Regions from separate parts of the Homo sapiens genome. Here region 1 is linked to region 2. The links are contacts of gene promoters, found by promoter capture Hi-C in human tissues and cell types (Jung and others, 2019). All regions are on one chromosome and are shown on one strand. Each heading gives the region's core, a stretch centred on a gene start or on the middle of the fragment in contact. The rest is flanking DNA. Distances are from core to core; before and after follow the strand shown. Region 1 overlaps PODXL2 (podocalyxin like 2). Region 2 holds the start of EFCC1 (EF-hand and coiled-coil domain containing 1).

The links. Contacts are between HindIII fragments. The study calls those that stand out against the background at their distance.
Region 1: a fragment that was not itself captured here is called in contact with the fragment with the promoter of EFCC1 in region 2 in 1 of the 25 tissues and cell types used here (stomach).

Annotation. Positions count from the first base shown.
Region 1 is chr3:127,645,742-127,649,018 of GRCh38, forward strand. All of the region lies in intron 2 of PODXL2 (podocalyxin like 2), which reads left to right. Among named protein-coding and RNA genes, the nearest start is that of PODXL2, 18 kb to the left of the region's middle. The HindIII fragment of the contact is 3,125 bases long and covers 1-2,899 here.
Region 2 is chr3:128,999,713-129,002,698 of GRCh38, forward strand. EFCC1 (EF-hand and coiled-coil domain containing 1) reads left to right here and starts at 1,592. Exons shown (of 8, transcript NM_001377500.1): 1 at 1,592-2,612. The coding sequence starts at 1,917. It also overlaps a transcript of CFAP92 not described here. The HindIII fragment of the contact is 14,506 bases long and covers 1-2,986 here.

The DNA.
Region 1 (3,277 bases), core at 87-2,586, 1.4 Mb before region 2:
TGGCAGGCTGACAGCGAATAGTCAGGCTGGTGTAGGAGGCAGCCCAGGGGACAGTGGCGTGCCCTACCCCCCTATTCTTGTCTGCTCTTGTGCCCCGGAGCCACAGGCTTCTGTCTAGGGGTTCTTGGGGAGAAGGAGGTGGATCACCTCTTGGGGGTTGGAGGAGTCAAAAGAACCTTGAGAGGGCATGCCTGGGTTGGGAGTCCTGCAGAGTCCAGATTGACTGTGCCAAGTGCTATCCTAACATGGCCATTAGGGACATTGAACTCCATGCAGCAGTAGCAGGGACTGCTGAAAACCATGCTGCAGACAGGCCAATCTCAGATCAAGTACAAGTACATCAATCAATGTATTCAACACCCAGTATGTGCCCAGCACTATGTTAGGGGTTGTGGGTTCTCATTTAACGTCCACTGAAAAATGTAAGTATATATTCTTACTTCCATTTAGCTGATAAGCAAACCTGAGGCTTAGGGAGTTTGAATTTACAGCCCAGCAAGTAAATGTAAGAATCAGGATTCAAACCCAAGTTATTAGACTCCAAAGCCTCTCTGCCCTGTCATGTCACCTCTCAGCACAGTGATTTTGCTGGAGACTAGCACTAATGTCATATTCTATGTGGTACTTATCACCATTTTTCCATAGATTTTTTTTTTTTTTTTAGATGAAGTCTCACTCTGTTGCCCAGGCTGGAGTACAATGGTGCAACAGTCTTGGCTCACTGCAACCTCCGCCTCCCAGGTTCAAGTGATTCTCCTGCCTCAGCCTCCCAAGTAGCTGGGATTACAGGGGTGCACCACTATGCCTAGCTAATTTTTGTATTTTTAGTGGAGACGGGGTTTCCCCATGTTGGCCAGGATGGTCTCAAACTCCTGACCTCGTGATCTGCCCGTCTCGGCCGCCCAAAGTGCTGGGATTGCAGACGTGAGCCACCACGCCTGGCTCCATAGAATTTTGAGTTAGCTCATTTGGACTTCACAACCATTCTGTGAGCTCAGCCAGGTGGCAGTTATTCTCTTTGCTTGACAAATGGTGAGCTGGGCCAAGGGAGGTTCAGACCTTTGCCCAAGGCCACACAGCTTGTGTGTGGCAGAGCCGAATCTGGAGTCGGTATCCCTGAGCACTGATGCCCTGGGCCTGGCTTCTTGCCAAGGGAGCACATTGATGACACATGTGAGACAGGAAACCAGTCCATTCTGTCACTAGGACTTTGTCATACATCCCATTTCTAGTGTGTTGGGCCTCAGGTAGAGCTGATGCCTTCCTTCTCCATCTGTAATGATGGTCCCCGGGCCCAGTGGGAAAAACAGCTGGTGGAGTTTCTGCTTGGTGGATAATGAGCAGTGTGACCTTGAGTGTGCTGCTTTTCTAATGTTGGCTTCAGTCTCTTCATCTGCAAAATGAGACCTGGGAATAATAGATTGAAGTCTTTGCAGCTTGAAAATATTATGATTCTGTGACATTTCAAGTGAAAAGAGCAACCTCAACAAAGCAGGGAAAAAAACATGGAATGCGAATTGCTGCTCCACCAGCTAGCATCAAGTGAAGTTACAGCCTGACCAGTTAATTCATGCACAATTGTTAATGATTAGGAGCAGTCTCTCAGGTTACCTACTCATTCGAGACTGTCCCCACTGACCCCTCTAGCCCTTTCATTTTCTAAGCTCCTTAAGGAAATTGTCTTGCATGCAGTTTTAATTTTCCTAGTGAGTGAGCAAATTAAAGTGTTCTGCAAGAAACACTTTAATCTTTGGGGTTGGCAAGTCCTAGATACCCAACTCAGACAGGCTCACGGGCCTGTCTGATAAAAGGGGACTTTATTGGCTGAAGAACGGGGGTCCAGGAACAGGCTTCCAGCTCCAGCACTCGGCGTGCCGCCCTCAACGTGCTGGAGCCTGCCCTGTCCCATCAGTCATGCTCGGCTTTCCCTTGCTGGCTTCGTTCTCAGGCAGGCTGGTCCTGGGCACCGGCTTGGAGAGCCCAGTAGCTCCACACTGTCGTCCCATCACTCAGCACCCCGCAGAAAGGGAGCTCTGCCTTCCCAGCACTTCAGGAACAGTCACTGGATGGTCTCCCTGAGTCCCAAGCTTGGGGATGGAATTTGACTGTCCAGGCCCATGTTGAGCTGTCCCTGAAGCCAGGGGACATTCCAGACCAAAAAGAGAGGAGGAATGTCCCCCAGAGTAGAATTGAGGTGCTATTAACAGAAAGAGAGCATGAGACAACAGTACTGTGCTTGAGTAGGGAACACTCATAAAGTGCCTATACTTCATATGTCATTTTCACTTGGATTTTTTTTTAACCTCACAGCAACCTGATGAAATCTGTAAAAGCAGGCATGATTAGATCACTGTTTTACAGCTAAAGAAGCTGGCTGACAGAGATTTAAAAGTGGCTCTAAATGACATAGTGGCAGAGCTAAATCTCAAATCTGAGAGTTCTACTTCAAGATCTGCTGCTCCCCTCAATACAAAGTCCTTCATTAGGCTACTTTAATTATCATTGCCGTAATCAATTTTGGAGAAAGCAGACCGACCGAGCAGCTGTCTGCTGGGACCTGGAGCTGGTTCCTGTACAGCGAAGCCTTGTTGTGATTGTGTCTGCTGTAGAATGATTTGACCTTCTGGGTCATTGCCCACACATCAGGTGTATCCATGTCCTTAGGATGGGCCGATAGCTGTGGAGCCTGTGGACAGAGCAACAAAGAGAGCACTTTTACTTAGACACCAAAACAAAAGCCTTGTCATTCTTGTTCTGTGCTAGTAATAAATATCAACATATAAAAATTTAAAACAGCAATTAAAAGAAGAAAATAAAAATCACCTATAATCCAGTGATTCAGTCAGTGAATGTTAACGTTTTGGACTATCTCTTTCTGGACTTTTTTTTTTTTTTGAGACAGTCTCACTCTTTGCCCAGGCTGGAGTGCAGTGGTGTGATCTTGGCTCACTGCAACCTCTGCTGCATGGGTTCAAGTGATTCTTAGTCTCCTGAGTAGCTGAGATTACAGGTGTGTGCCCCTATGCCCAGCTAATTTTTGTATTTCTTTTTTTTTTTTTTTTTTTTTTTGAGACGGAGTCTTGCTCTGTCGACCAGGCTGGAGTGCACTGGTGCGATCTCAGCTCACTGCAATCTCTGTCTCCCGGATTCAAGCAATTCTCCTGCCTCAGCCTCCTGAGAACTGGGGCTGCAGGCAGGTGCCACCACCCCCAGCTAATTTTTGTATTTTCAGTAGAGACGGGGTTTTGTCATGTTGGCCAGGCTGGTCTTGAACTCC
Region 2 (2,986 bases), core at 342-2,841:
TATTTTTAGTAGAGATGGGGGTGGTTCACTATGTTGTCCAGGCTGTTCTCGAACTCTTGACCTCAGGCAATCCACCCGCCTCGGCCTCCCAAAGTGGTGGGATTACAGGCGTGAGCCACCGCGACCGGCCAAGAAAAAGAAACACATGAGAACATCTTAACAAAAGGGAAATACTGCAGTGTCTCCCATCTGCAGAAAGAACCACTGAATCCACTTATGAATCCCTCCATCTTCTTCTGTGCACTCACATACACATGTCCTAGTAGAAAATACTTAGTATTGTTTTGTGTGTTTTTGTTCTTGTTATGTAAGCATCAGTGTTGTGCATAATCAGCTTGTGGCTTGCTGTGTCCGCTCATCCTCGTTTGCTGAGTCCTAGCTGATTTGATGGACACCAGGTTGTCTCCAGTTTCTCACTGTAATAAACAATGATGCAGTGAACATCCTGTGCACAGTGGCTTTCGAAGGTAGAAGCCAAGAAGTGGACGTGATGTAAAAACTTTGTCAAATTGCCATTACTTTTATAATTAAAAACAAACCTAAAAGAATATGTCCAAAATGCTTGGGGAGAAGCCTCTAACTCCTTCCCAGCAGATATGTACTCTGGGCAAAGCCTTCAAGAACAAGTACGAATTTGCCAAATGGACAACGTGCTGATTCTGGGATACTGTGGCAGAGGAGACAGAATGCTATCGCTTTTCAAACGGCAAGATTTTACATTTAAACTCACAGAGTTATCCACAAGGCAAGATTCTGTCTCTGTCATAGCTAGGAACAGCTGAAGAGTCTGCCTCTTGCTCCAACATGGCTGGGTACCGTGGCTGGATAACCGTTCCCGGTGCAGGTAACAGGTGGACAATATCACAATATCACTGCACCCCTCTCGTGAAAAAGAAAGGGAACACAGTCTAGCACTCACCAGAGAAGCAGGTTTTTCTTCATCTTCCAGAAATGTGTTCTAAAACACCAGAAAAAAACATCAGCCAATCATCGACCTGTTAACCTAACCCCAGCTCAAGAGATGGAACTCGGATCCCATTGCCAAGTCAGCACCGGCAGGCACAAAGGTGGCAGGGCCGGGAGACACCACTTTCCCGAGAGTCCTATCCCCACCCCCAACAGGGATCGGGAGAGAGCAGTTAGCACAGGGCTCGTCTCAGATGGGCTTCTCACCAGCGGGGTGCCCCTAACCTAGACCCCTTGCCTCTCCAAGCCTGTTTCCCTCTCTTTCCCAGTTACTACTTGGGGCTCTTTGCACGGTCTATGGTGGCACAAGAAGTGGGTTCGGAAACCCAGTAGCTGAATTGAAGCGGAGGGGAGGCTTTTCCGCACCTACGGCTACAGGGCGGCGAGAGCAGGCTTGCCAGGCAACCCTCGAAAGGCCTTCCGGGAAGAGGGGGAAGAGTGACGCTTGGGTGTGGGGGCACATCCCCAGCAACCGGACGAGGCCGCCACCCCCAAGGCCCTCCTGGGCTTCGGATCCCGCGCCAACCCCTCGCCCAGGTCTCGGAGCGAACTCTCCGCGCCAGGCGGGCGGGGCGGAGGGAGGAGGGAGTTGAGAGTGGACGGCCGGGAGTGGGAGGAAAAGCGCAGACGCCAGGAACGCCCCGTGAGTGAGGAGAGGAGAGCGTGGGAGTCACGCGGAGAAGCCAGACCCAGACGCCGACCGGGCACTGGTGGCGCTGCCGGGGTCCCGGGGGTTCCTGGACCCCCTACCCCAGGCCCCTCCAAAGCAACTGGGGTAAACCAGACGCACTGTGAGGCCAGCGCAGCTGCTGGACACGGTCCCCGGCGCCGCTCCAACCAGACCGCGACCGCTAAGCCCCTCCTTTCGAGAAACTCTGGGGCCGCCCCTGGAAGTGGCGGGGCGAAGGGACCGGAGGAGGGACCGGAGGAGCGAGGCGCGCGGCGCAGCGATGGAGCCGGTCAGCACGGGCGCGGAGGCCGGCATGGAGGGCGCGGGAGGTGACCCGTACCGGCGACCTGCGCGGCGCACGCAGTGGCTGCTGAGCGCCCTGGCGCACCACTACGGGCTGGACCGCGGCGTGGAGAACGAGATCGTGGTGCTGGCCACCGGCCTGGACCAGTACCTGCAGGAGGTCTTCCACCACCTGGACTGCCGCGGCGCCGGCCGTCTGCCCCGCGCCGACTTCCGAGCGCTCTGCGCTGTGCTGGGGCTGCGCGCGGAGGGGGCCACCACGGCCGGGCAGGCAGCAGGTGACGGGAACTCCAGAGATGTGACCCCCGGGGATGCGGCCGCTGAGTTGGCCACGGACGGGGACTCAGATACCGATGAAGAGGCGCGCCTGGCGCTGCGCGCCGAGCCGCCGGAGCTCACCTTCCGCCAGTTCCACGCGCGCCTCTGTGGCTACTTCGGCACCCGTGCGGGGCCCCGGCTGCCCCGCGGCGCTCTCAGCGAGCACATCGAGACGCAGATCCGCCTGCGCCGTCCGCGCCGCCGCCGCCGCCCGCCCTGCGCGCCTGGCCCCGACAGCGGTCCTGACTGTGAGCGCGTTGCGCGGCTGGAGGAGGAGAATAGCAGCTTGCGCGAGTTGGTGGAGGACCTGCGCGCCGCGCTGCAGAGCAGTGATGCGCGCTGCCTAGCACTGCAGGTGCGCGCCGGCCACGAAGGGAGGGTGGTAACGCCCGGGAGAGGGCTCGAACTAAAAGCTGGCTGGCTGCGGAGCCCGACAGGACAGAGTCAGAGGAAGGGGAGACAGAGGGCAGCCCCACACCATCCCACTCCGCATCAGCACACTTGCATCTTGCCCCTGTTCCTCCCCATTCCACTCCAGTCCCCAACCCTATTCTTACCACCTATTCCATTCCTGAAAACCCCAATCACACTCAAACAACCATACCCCACTTTTCTGCTCCACCGCCACATCATCGCGTCTTGCCCCTTTAACCTAGGAATTGCACCTGTCTGGGTAGTCTCACATATTCCCTTTCAACAAGCATCTTTCTCTCTCCTTCCTGCCAGGCT